Regions from separate parts of the Homo sapiens genome. Here region 2 is linked to region 1. Evidence: promoter capture Hi-C in human tissues and cell types (Jung and others, 2019). All regions are on one chromosome and are shown on one strand. The core of a region is centred on a gene start or on the middle of the fragment in contact, and the rest is flanking DNA. Distances in the headings are between cores, read along the strand shown. Region 1 holds the start of TRIML2 (tripartite motif family like 2). Region 2 has its middle 30 kb from the start of FAT1.

What was found. Contacts are between HindIII fragments. The study calls those that stand out against the background at their distance.
Region 2: a fragment that was not itself captured here is called in contact with the fragment with the promoter of TRIML2 in region 1 in 1 of the 25 tissues and cell types used here (dorsolateral prefrontal cortex).

What each region holds. Positions count from the first base shown.
Region 1 is chr4:188,106,591-188,113,004 of GRCh38, reverse strand. It overlaps TRIML2 (tripartite motif family like 2), which reads left to right and starts at 3,402. Exons shown (of 8, transcript NM_173553.4): 1 at 3,402-3,762. It also overlaps the pseudogene FAUP3. RefSeq lists enhancers at 1-220, 221-738, 4,371-4,889, 4,890-5,408, 5,928-6,414. The HindIII fragment of the contact is 13,208 bases long and covers 1-6,414 here.
Region 2 is chr4:186,751,132-186,757,545 of GRCh38, reverse strand. No RefSeq gene overlaps it. Among named protein-coding and RNA genes, the nearest start is that of FAT1, 30 kb to the right of the region's middle. The HindIII fragment of the contact is 3,401 bases long and covers 1,047-4,447 here.

The DNA.
Region 1 (6,414 bases), core at 2,153-4,652:
CATGTTGGGTTCAGATAAGCATGCACTGACTTACAACAACAAATGGGTAACTGTGCTATCATGAGGTCGACCATAATGTTTGATTCTTTTTTTTTTTTTTTTTTGAAACAGAGTCTTGCTCTGTCGCCCAGGCTGGAGTGCAGTGGCTGTGATCTCGGCTCACTGCAACCTCTGCCTACCGGGTTCAAACGATTCTCCTGCCTCAGCCTCCCAAGTAGCTGGGATTACAGGTGCCCGCCACCATGCCCAGCTAATTTTTATATTTTTAGTAGAGACAAGGTTTCACCATGTTGGCCAGGATGGTCTTGATCTCTTGACCTTGTGATCCAACTGCCTCGGCCTCCCAAAGTGCTGGGATTACAGGCATGAGCCACAGTGCCCGGCCCCCATAATGTTTGACTCTTAATTTTTTTTTTTTTTTTTTGAGACAGAGCTTTGCTCTTGTTGCCCAGGCTGGAGTGCAGTGGCGCGATCTCGGCTCACTGCAACCTCCACCTCCTGGGTTCAAGTGATTCTCCTGCCTCAGCCTCCTGAGTAGCTGGGCATGCGCCCACGCCCGGCTAATTTTGTATTTTTAGTAGAGACGGGGTTTCTCCATGTTGATCAGGCTGGTCTCGAACTCCGGAACTCAGGTGATCCGCCTGCCTCGGCTTCTCAAAGTGCTGGGATTACAGGCGTGAGCCACTGCGCCTGGCCTGATTCTTAAGTTTTAATGCTTTCTTAAGCAAGGAAGAAGCAGTTGAACATGACTTCTGGACCTCTTAGAGCTGTGGGAAGTAAACCAGTGAGAGCCAAGCCCCTGCTTCTAATGGAGCAGCCTTGGAGAAAAGGAGCCAGAGAGAAGCCACACCTTCCAGATGAGTGATAACACTGGGACCACAACCAGCACACCCCCGCCTCCAGCTGTTCTTTTCTGGAATGGGAGGAGGTGGTAGTCTCCTGCCGCAGATTTGGTCCAAAGTAACAAATACAGCCTTGTTTGGCACCAGCCATACTCATCCCACCCAGAAGCCGAGAGTATGCCAGCCTGGGGCGAGTGGTGAAGGTGATGTGGCTAACAAAGGGGACAGGACTGTTTTTGTTTTGTCCTGGTTTTTTGAGACCGAGTCTTGCTCTGTTGCCCAGGCTGGAGTGCAGTGGCACGATCTTGGCTCACTACAGCTTCCGCCTCCTGGGTTCAAGCAATTTCCGGCTAATTTTTGTATTTTTAGTAGAGATGAGGTTTCCCATGTTGGCCAGGCTGGTCTCGAACTCCTGACCTCAAGTGATCCACCCGCCTCGGTCACCCAAAGTGCTGGGGATACAGGCATGAGCCAGAGTGCCCGGCTGGGATACGACTGTTATAAGTTCATGAAATGACTCAGGAGAACAATGACTCACTCATTCATAATTGTATTTGTTCTTTGACAGTGAAAAAAAACTACATTTCTTCAGGATTTTCATTTTAATGAAAAGTTTTCCTATGAAAAATCTAACTACCTTAAAATGATCTGTGTTCCTTGTAATGTGATTACTCTAGCCCTATGAAAGCATCTCGTGATAAATTGTCATACAAATTTGAGGCATCTTTTTTGTAAATTGTCAAGCCATTTGATTAATATTTAATAAGGACAAATAATTATAATAAGGAAATATCATGAAATTTGGCACCCGATTCAAATTCCATATCTTCAATTTTCTGCACCCAGTGCTCTTGGTCAATTACTTAATCCCGTGACTTAATCTCTACGTCATCTACTTCATCAGCTGCAGATGTACCTCACGGGGTTGGAGCATGCAACAGGTGGGGCATGTAACAGTAAATAAGGGTTTAGCACACTTTTTTGTAATGTTTTTAGAATTATCTTAAAATATTGACTCTTCTAGAATTAATAATTTAATTATTAATAAATATTTATTTAATAGTAAAACAGGCTTTAATAAGTATTTATTTAAGCATTTAATACTCTAAAACAGGCTTTAAGAGACTTCAAAACCTGACAATATGCTTGATGTTTATTTTCCATTTGATTCAAAGATTACAAAGTTTTCTTGTCAAGATGAGTAAGCTCAAGAGTTATGAAAGCTCAAGGGATGGTGAGAGTAAATGACAGAGTATCTGACAACAAGTATGTGTGAGTATCTTCACAGACGTTGGCCGTACCCAGGCTTAGAAGAGAAAGGAAGATTGGATTAGAAAAATAAGAGAAGTAAAGGAGGATGGACTGGCTGAGGAGGGGAGGGGGCACAGGAATAAATGTGGTCTATTTGAAGAAAGCTGGGGAATTGGGTTTTGGAAAAGAGAGTGGGTGTAGGTAATCATCTGAGATAAGAGAAAGGGTGTATGGCCAGGCGCGGTGGCCAGAACTTTTGGAGGCCAAGGAGGGTGGGTCACCTGAGGTCAGGAGTTTGAGACCAGCCTGGCCAACATGGTGAAACCCCATCTCCACTAAAAATACAAAAATTAGCTGGGTGTGGTGGGCGCCTATAATCCCAGCTACTCGGGAGGCTGAAGTGGGAAAATTGCTTGAACCTGGGAGGCGGAGGCTGCAGTGAGCCGAGATCGCTCCACCGCACTCCAGCCTAGGCAACAGAGTGAGACTCTCATCTAAAAAAAAAAAAAAAGAAAGAAAAAAGAAAAAGAGAAACGGTGTATTGAGATTCCATAAGGTAGAACCAGGTTCTGAAAGATCAGATAAGCAAAGCAGAAGAATTCTCATTATCCTGTCAGCAGCATAAAGAAAAAAACTCCCTGGTTTGATTAGCAGGGGATTGACTGACTGATGCAATAAAAACCCTCGGGGACAAAACTATAAAACTTAGAAAGCTGTGAAGAGTTCCTCCTCACTGAAGCCAAATATCAAGTATGAATTATCTGGGATTGTTCCCTGACCTCCCATCTGTGACAGATTCCATAGGCAGTTATCCCTACTCTTGGTTTTTCTTTCCACAGATACTGGAATGAACACTTCTCCAGCAAACGTTCTAGAAACTAACAAGTCAGGCATTATTTTCTACTAAGGAACAAACACAGTCTTGAGTGTTAGCTCGAAGGCTTCTTTCCTGTGAAATTGTCAATATACACTAGATTCATTAAGAAAGAAAACCCCAAACCTTAAGGAGCTAGAGGTGTTAGGCACTGTACATGGCACTGGAGATAAAACAAGATATTTATCCAACCAAGGTCAGGGCTATTAAGCATTTTCTGGGAGTCCATTAAAAATGTAAATTACGGACCCCACCGTAGATTTCTGGAATCAGAGACCCTGTGAAGAGGCTTGCGTTTTAATAAACTCAGGTGGTTCTAATGAGATTAATTGTGTGAATATGATAAGAAACTTCACAGACGCCTTCCTGATGGTGTGAGGGCGGGGCTGAGGGAGGAATTGAACAGATAAAATCTCTTCAGTCTCCACTGTTCCAGCTTTTTCCCTAAAGGAAATACCTTGGTTCGGTGTGGTGACTCATTCCTGTAATCCCAGTACTTTGGGAGGCTGAAGCAGGCAGATTGCTTGAGCCCAGGAGTTCAAGACCAGCCTGGGAAAAATACTGAAACCCCGTCTCTACAAAAAATACAAAAATTAGCCGGGTGTGGTCGTGCAGCGCCTGTAATCCCAGCTACTCAGGAGGTCAAGGTGGGAGAATCACTTGAGCCTGGGAGCTCGAGGCTGTAGTGAGCCGAGATTGCGCCACTGCATTCCAGCCTGGGTGACAGAGCAAGACCCTGTCTCAAAAAAAAAAAAAAAAAAAAAAAAGGAAATACCCAGGATTGCTACAAAGAAAGTAAGTGAGATTTTCTCTATAGATCATTTTCTTAATAATTGTTTCTTTAGATTTCTAAACTTGATCTTAGAATCTATGTGTGTGTGTGTGTATCTGTGTGTTATCAGGAAAAAGCCTGAAGAAAAATATTAGGAAAAACAAAATAAGGGTAGACAACATGCTGGGGACTTAATTCGTCAATTTTCCTTTGCTGTTTCTGTAAAAATATTTAGTCTCTGTCCCTCTCTCATTACACCTTCAATTTTTACTGGTTTAACATAAAATATCGTTTACAATATTTATTGTGCATCGAGTATGTCAGATGTAGACACAGGGCATCTCAAGGACTTAGTTTCTTATGGATGGAGAGTGACCCACAAGTAAACTTGTTCATAGAAAGATAAAATCTTTTCGCTACTAAGAAAATAAAATAAGGAGATGAGTAGTGGGAAGGTATTTCAAATTGAGTAGTGATGGAAAGGTCTCTCTTGGGAAGACATTTGAGCTGAGAACTGAAGAGAAGAAAGAAGAGGCAGCTGGAATTGCAAAAATATGAGAGAAGAGCTCTGTTGGCCACGGAAGGGGGAAGGGCTGTGATGAATTAGAGGCAGCTAGATTGACAGTGATGGGGGAAAGCTATAGAGAGATCAGAAGAAGGCAGGAGGCCAGATTGTATAGGACGGGGTTATTACCCACTTCGATCTTACTCTAATGCCATAGAAAGTGACCACAAACCTGCTCACTTGGTTTTGGTTTTAAAATAGTATTCTGGTGGTTGAGCAGAGAGGAGCTGGAGATGGACGAGGAGGGCAGGACAGAATATAAATTTGGAAAACAATAGTTGAATTGGTGAAAGGAAGGCTTAAACTGTGGCTCTAAAGGAATGAGTTTGGGGGAAGAGAGCCACTGGGTTGAGATCCTGAGCGGCTTTAGATATGTTAATTTTGAGTGCTCCTTAGACATTCTATTGCAAAAATGTTGGGAATTGGGCAGGAGATTGAAATCGGAGAATGGAACTTAAATCTTCAGAAACGAGTAAGATTACCTAGGGAGAGACCAGGACTGGGAGACCAGAACTCAACCTTGAAGCACCCCAAGATTGAGAGGTTCAGAGGATGTGGGACCAGAAAAGGCCACGGAGAACAAGACCAGACAAGTTAGAGGAATGTCAGCTGCAGACAGATGAGAGAAGAAAACATTCTAGGAAGAAGGGTGTGGTCAGCTATGTTAACTGCTGCTGAGAGCTCAAGGAAAAATTTGAGTTGGTGAATTTCTTTGTTTTGGTGACTCAGTGGAGTCATCTCGGACATGTTCAGGGACCTAAGACACGGGAAACCAGCAGGGATTTCAAAGACCTAAGCAGAAGAAAGGATGAGAGCATCAAAAACAAGGAAGGAGGGAGAAAGTATTTGCAACTCACACAATTTACAGGAACTTGGATCTATAGCTCTCTCTTAAAATTGACCCCTCCCTCCAAAAAGGCCAAACCTGATGGAATAAACTGAGAGAGAGGCTTGAACATAGACTTCACAGCAAAAGAAGTGAAAATGGTTTTTTAGCATATGAAAATAAAAGGCTTAGACATATTAATAATATAACAGATGGAAGTTGAAAATATATGAATACACTATTTCTCACCCAGCCAGTGGGCAATGATCCAAAAGTTTAACATCTTTTTAATTTGTTGCTTGGAGTGCAAAATTGTACAACTTTTGTGCTTGGGAAACTGACAAAACATATCAAAATTATGGATGCATTCATTCACAGTCCTATTTGTGGGGAATATGCCTTTTCAGGCCAAGATTCTCAACTTTTTGGAATCAGTACTCCTTTGCACTCATTATTGACGAAGATCCCAATAAGCTTTTGTTTATGAGCGTTAATATCTATGTTTACTGTATTAGAAATTTAAAACTGCATTTTATAGTTATTCATTTAAAATAATAAAAACAAGCCAGGCACGGTGGGTCACACCTGTAATCCCAGCACTGAGGCTGAGGCGGGCAGATAACCTGAGGTCAGGAGTTCCAGATCAGTGTGGCCAACACGGTGAAACCCCGTCTCTACTAAAAATACAAAAAATTAGCTGGGTGTGGTTTCACGCGCCTGTAGTCCCAGCTACTCGGGAGGCTGAGGCAGGAGAGTCGGTTGAACCCGGGAGGCGGAGGTTGCAGTGAGCTGAGATCGTGCCACTGTGCTCCAGCCTGGGCGACAGAGATTCGGTCTCAAAAATAAATAAATAAGTTAATAAAATAATAAAAACAAAAACATTTTTCTGAGAAAAAAGTTTTCGAGCTAAGTGGCTTTTTTAATAGAGAAAGCCAGAATTACAAAGGACTTAAGAAGGACATTGGGGCCCTTCTTCTTGCCAAAGATGGGCACAACGTCGACAAAGCGCCGGTGGTACCGCACCCGCGGCTCAGCCCGGCCTGTCTTCTCGCTTGGCCACCTTAGCAAGAGTCTGACCTGTCACTTTCCCAGCGCGGGCCGGGGAACCACGGACTTGGCCTCCCGGGCAGTCGGGGCCTCCCACTTCGCCCTGGTCCAGGGTGGCCTCGCCCTGCAGGGACGCGCCTGCCAGGAGCACGATAGATCTTCCGGGGCGAAGCCCTCCAGTGGCGCTGCCTGAGCCGCGACCTGGGAGACCGTCTCCTGGCCGGTCACCTGGAGGGC
Region 2 (6,414 bases), core at 1,498-3,997, 1.4 Mb after region 1:
CAGCCTGGGCAACATAGACTCTATCTCTACAAAAAAAAAAAAAAAATTCTCAGTAGAAATTGGGCTGTAGGTTTGGAGAGTCCTGGATTAATGTCTTACAATTAGCAAAACTCATGGTCTTTGTGCTTTCCTTCTCCCCCATGACCCCACTCCTTTCCAGCCTACCCCAAAATTTGAAAAGCAGCTTTATTTCCTTATGTAATATAGTAATGTGAGTAAACCTCACACTGATACTTTTTGTGGCCAAAGTGGGAGAAAGTTCCAGTAAAACGTTGTAACTATCCAGTCATGTTACCTGGGTATCCTTCCAGTCATTTTTTCTGTGTCTGTATATACATCTAATTTTACCCCAAAATTGAGATCACATCAGCATCATCTACTGAGCAACTATGGCTGGAATTAAGGATATAAAGATGAATAGGACATAATCTCTGCCCTGGAGACAAACCACATAACAGTTAAACAGATCATTCACCCTAGGGTGATAATGCTTCCTCAAGGAAGGCCCAGAGTGCCACCAATGAGAGCACTCCTGGACCCAGGATAAACAAGGCAGACAAAGCTTCCCAGAAGAGGTGTCACCTGCATGGAAGGATGAGGAGTTGATTAGATGACACAGGGTGAAGAGGGTGTTCCAGGTCAGAGGAGCAGGTCGATGGTAACAGCGTATTAATAGCTGTTCGGAATTGCTGAAGCATGCACTATCCACAATAGCAAAGACTTGGAACCAACCCAAATGCCCATCAATGATAGACTGCACAAAGAAAATGTGCCACATATATACCATGGAATACTATGCAGCCATAAAAAAGATGAGTTCATATCATTTGCAGGGACATGGATGAAGCTGGAAACCATCATCCTCAGCAAACACAGGGACAGAAAACCAAACACCGCATGTTCTCACTTATAAGTGGGAGTTGAACGATGAGAACACATGGACACAGGGAGGGGAAGATCACACACCAGGGCCTGTTGGAGGGTAGAGAGGGGAGGGAGAGCATTAGGAGAAATACCTAATGTAGATGACAGGTTGATGGGTGCAGCAAACCACCATGGCACATGTATACCTACGTAACAAAGCTGCACATTCTGCACATGTATCCCAGAACTTTAATTAGAAAAAAAAAAATTGCCGGAGCATGAAATGCCAGTGTGGAGGCTCCTCCACTGAGCAGAGGCCAGGTTGTGGAGGACCTAGAAAGGCGCGCCAAGGAATGTAGATTTTACCCCTTGGAAAACAGAAGCATTTCAATATGGTGTTGCTGTTTTGATAGATGATGGTGGAAGCATGTGAGGTTTGGATTTGAGACAGAACACACTATGGAAGACCAGTCAGGAGCCTAGAATTAGTCCAGGGAACAGAAAGCAAGGAAGAGGGAAAGAAATCCAAACTATTGGTGGTTAAGTTCACTGGACTTTGTGACTATTATGCGCATGTAGGAGTTGCAGGACAAAGAGTTACCCAGATTACCACCAAGGATGAGGTAATAATTATCTAATTCAGTTAGACAAGACAGGAAGTGAAGCTTGCCCTATGGCAGTGGAGGCAGACCAAAGCTGAGTTCAGTTCTCTGCATGTTGTGTGTAAGGTAAATATATACACAGGGCCAGTAGATCTGCAGCTTAAGTTCAGACAGGGGTTGAGGGATAGAGATACAAGGATAGAATTTATCTGCATACAAGTAAAAACCATGAGAGTAGATGGATTGAACTAAGGAGCATGTACAAAGTGAGACGAGCTGCAAGCAATGAGCTCTAGGCTTCATGCTTCAGAGGCTCCCAGGGTGTCAAGCTTTGTGGTCAATAGGTTGAAGGGTCTCTCACCAAACACCTGCGTAGTCATAAATCGAGATGTACCCACACTCCAAGTACAAGAGATAATTTATGAGTCAACCTTTCCTAAAAGGTTATTCCCAGTATGTTGACTGACTACAAGAATCATTCATTTATTTGACAAATCTTTACTAAGCTCTGTAAAGCAGGCAACAGTTCAAGACCCTGTTGGTGATGGTAGGAATGTAACGGCTGTTAGAATATGGAAATATTGCTGCCCCAGAGGGTATATCACAGTGGTTCTCAACTAGGGTGATTTTACTTCCCAGGAGACATTTGAAAATATCTGGTGACATTTTTTGGTTGTCATAACTGAGGGGGAAGTGAAAATGGCAACTAGTGGGTAGAAGCCAGAGAGATTCCTAAACATCCTACATCAGGACAGCAGCCCCCAACAGCAAAGAGCGATAACGCTCCCCAAAATGTCAGTAGCACCACGTTTAAGAAACGCAGGAATCCAGTCATGATTATGGGGTCCCTGCCAGTGTCCCCACCCCGCCGTGGCCTCTCCCTGGGTTCCGCCCCTCCCACTTTCTCCATACGAGCCACTGACGTGTTCTTGTATGCCCCTGAGTGAGCCTGCACACTTTGTTCAGCTTTATGGCCAGTGTCTGTTCTGCTTGGTTGGTGCCTGAGCCTTATCAGTTGTTAAATGTCTTAAATATTTTATAAATATTTATAAAATATGGTCTCTCTCTTTAATGAGTTCGTGAGAATCATCTACATGATGATTTTGACTGACATTCCTTCCTTTAAGAAAGATAAAACCTTCTACTAAATAATATGTATGACCAGAAAAATGAAGCTTTGATACACCTAGCTCTTTGTGAGGAGTTGGGAAAATATATATTAGTGGTACATGATACTACAAAAGAAAGAAAATAACATGATTATTGCCAACATAAAGGAAAATCTGGAAAAACTCTGAGAAATGTAAAAGGCAATGACCTGGACTCAGCTAGTTTATTCAAAAGTATATTAAGGTTAAAAAATTTAAATAATACTCAAAAAGATATTTGCAATATAGCAGGTGATAATAGGAAAGAAACTTTCCCTAAACAGTTGTTGAGCCAGTAATTTTCCATCCTTACACTTTTATATAAAGTTTATTAAATGTGAGTTACTACTACTATTTGGATACATTGTACAACATTTTAAAAGCTTTAACATAAACACTCTTAAAAATAAAATACCCCAAAGAAATTGCATAGCAAAGGAAGTCTGTTTTGAATATGTTTTTTCTTTCAGAACATCCTCACATATTGACATGGTTAGTTACTAAAGATAAACATAAAATATTAATCAGCCACCTACAGTGTTGCTGTCTCTTTGGTGCTGCTGAGAACTGGACAACTGAATTATGCTTATTAAAATGCACTGTGAATCAGAAAAACAGTTTGGTAAAGGCTTATTTTCCTGGTCATACAACTTAAAACAGGGTGGCATGTCTTTTAGTTCTCAAAGTTCTCCATTTCATCACAGCATTTAGACCTAAATAGGCAGCATTTGTGTAAAAGTAGTTTTCCCCAAAAAATATCTTTTTAGCCAACAACCTGGACTCCTCAAAAAATGTGTAAGTGACAGCTGCCTCCAAAGTATACTTTCATTTCTTTTGTTACTTGTAAAAGCAACTATTCTTTTTAGCCAGAAGATACTATTGCAGAAACAAAAAGGAAAACAAAAACAAAACGAGTTGTTCATCTCCACATAAAATTTAAGTCAATGTTTACATGAAAATGTCTTTCAATAACTTATATAAAAAATCCATTCCAGTTTTTCTGTACAAAAAGAAAAACATACACGAATCCAATGAGATATAATCAAAGTGCTTTTAAAAGTATAAAGTAGGCTGGGCGCGGTGGCTCATGCCTGTAATCTCTGCACTTTGGGAGACCAAGGCGGGTGGATCACCTGAAGTCAGGAGTTCGAGACCAGCCTGGCCAGCATGATGAAACCCTTTCTCTACTGAAAATACAAAAATTAGCTGGACATGGTGCCTGTAATCCCAGCTACTCGGGGGGCTGAGGCAGGAGAATCTCTTGAACCCAGGAGGTGGAGGTTGCAGTGAGTCGAGATCGCACCATTGTACTCCAGCCTCGGTGAAAACAGCGAAACTCCGTCTCAAAAAAAAAAAAAAAAAAAAAAAGTATAAAGTAAAAAACTAGTATCAGTACTTTCTTTGTCACGAGGAAATTGAAAATTTAATCTTAAGAAAGCGCAGGACTGGTTGGGCACGAGAAAAACCATGAACAACCATGTATTTTTGCCCTTATAATTAACATCATTTATTGCCACCTGAAATCTCGCTTGCTGAAATGGCCTTAAACTTGTCTATGTTTTTTCAAAAGGAGAATATTTTCATGTTAGCTTTCATTCAATGTTTACTCACCAAGTACCTGTTAAGATTCTGTGTCATGCCCCACATACAGTTTGACATTGTGAACTTTCTCATAAATGCCAAGATACTAATTACAGAATCTGCATTGTGTGTGGTCTAATAGGGCCATGGCCTTGGAAATCAGGTAGGGATCAGGCTCTGTCCTGGGGCACATAGATGGGAACTGATTCTGATCCCATCCAGGTAGCTCTTGAACCACATTAAAGACTCAAATTCATTTGGAACAAAAAAGTCCATAGTGGTATGCTCACTAAATATTTGTTAATCAACTTGATATTTTAGAATGTATATATCTTTCTGTGTTTTATCAGACATCTCAGATTTAAGACATACTATTGATTCATTACTGCCCTTGAAATTTTAGGAGACGGACTTACATGCATACATACACGAATCCAGCTGGAAAGAATCTGTTTTGTAGAAATGTTCTTATCTGTTATAAATGGCTTGTATTGAGATGCAAAATTTTCATAACATTTAGAGAAACCAAACTTTCCTAATGTTTCAGAGTTTTAAAAGACTTCAAAATCTTTGGGCCTCAACTACTAACAAACTCTACAGCACATGTGAAAAGTCCATGGCTGGATATTTCCATGGAGAATCAAAATTGGGCCACACCTAAACTTTCATTTTTCAACATCTATTGAGAATCTCTTTGTCAGATTACCCCTTCTTCCTAATTCTCAGTTTCTGTGTCTGCCAAGTGTGAATAATAAAGTTTCTTATATCATCATGTTGTTGTTAGGTGTAAATGAAACAGTGCATGCAAAGGTGTAAATGAATAGTTCTAGGACACTCCTACTTGGTCGGTCAGGCACATCGAAGCAGCTGCCTCCAGTCCGCTAAGTCACTCCCGGCCTGACCCGAGCACCTCATTTCATGCCTGAGTCTGTAGGTGTAAATGAAATACTGCGTGCAAATGAGTAAATACATTTTTATTCATAGACAAATAGGATATTAGAGCTGGAAGAACCTCAAATATCTAGTCCTCCTTCTGTTTAGAAATGAGAAAATTAACCCCCAGAGAGAGTAACTTGAAGAAAGTCACACAGCTTATCAGCGGGAGGTCTAAAATCAAAACCCGGGTCTCAGGACGTCCAGCTTGGTGCTATTTGCAAAATATTATCCTAGGGTAGAAGCTAAACTAACTTTGAAATAATAGTAAACTTTGTGCCGTAAAATACACCACAAAGTTCTACCCCCAAGCTAGCCACTCATCAAAAAGTTTCTCTTATTTTAGACTATAATACAAGCCCTCGACAGTGACTAATTTGATTTATTTTCTGGATTAGCTACTATAGGTGCTTTTAAAAATGTTTTTCCACAGGCTTTCTCATGGAAACAGAGCTAAATATGAACACTCATTAATCTTTTTCCCAAATCTGCAGAGGAATTTTAATAGATCTACAAGCTGTAATATCGAACAGGTTCTCCTGCGTCCTGAATTCCTCTGTACCATTGGCCCATCCCTGAGATTGTGAACCCTACATAGAAATCTGGGAGTGGAAAAGCAGCTGAGAGTAGAGGGGCTGAGATTTTGGGGAAGAGGGTTGCTAGGCGCAGAGGGTAGTACCAGCTTCTCTGCACTCACCTCTGCTTTGTTCTGAGGTCCTCTCTACCTGGGTCCCAAGGCTATTTGATTAATCAAAACCCGCTGGGGAAGCTTGTTTTGTTGGCTTAAAAAGAATTTGTTCATGTATTTTAATTTTTTAACCTTTGATTATGGACATTTTCAAACATTCACAAAAGTAGACAGTACTACATAATGAATGCCATGTATTCTCACCCAACTTCAACAAACTACCAACATTTGTCCATATTTTCTCATTTATTCCTCCCCACTTTTTTGCCCACTTCTAAATTTTTAAAAGTAAATCCCAGTCATCATATCATTTTGTCCATAAGTTCATCAGTGTGTATATCTAACAGATATAGACTTAAAAAAGGGCTGGGCGCGGTGGCTCGTGCTTGTAACACCAGCACTTTGGGAGGCCGAGGTGGGCGGATCACCTGAGGTCAGGAGTTCGAGACCAGCCTGGCCAACATGGTAAAACCCCATCTCTACTAAAAACACCAAAATTAGCCAGGTGTGGTGTGGGTGCCTGTAATCCCAGCTACTCGGGAGGCTGAGGTAGGAGAATTGCTTGAACCTGGGAGGCAGAGGTTGCAGTGACCTGAGA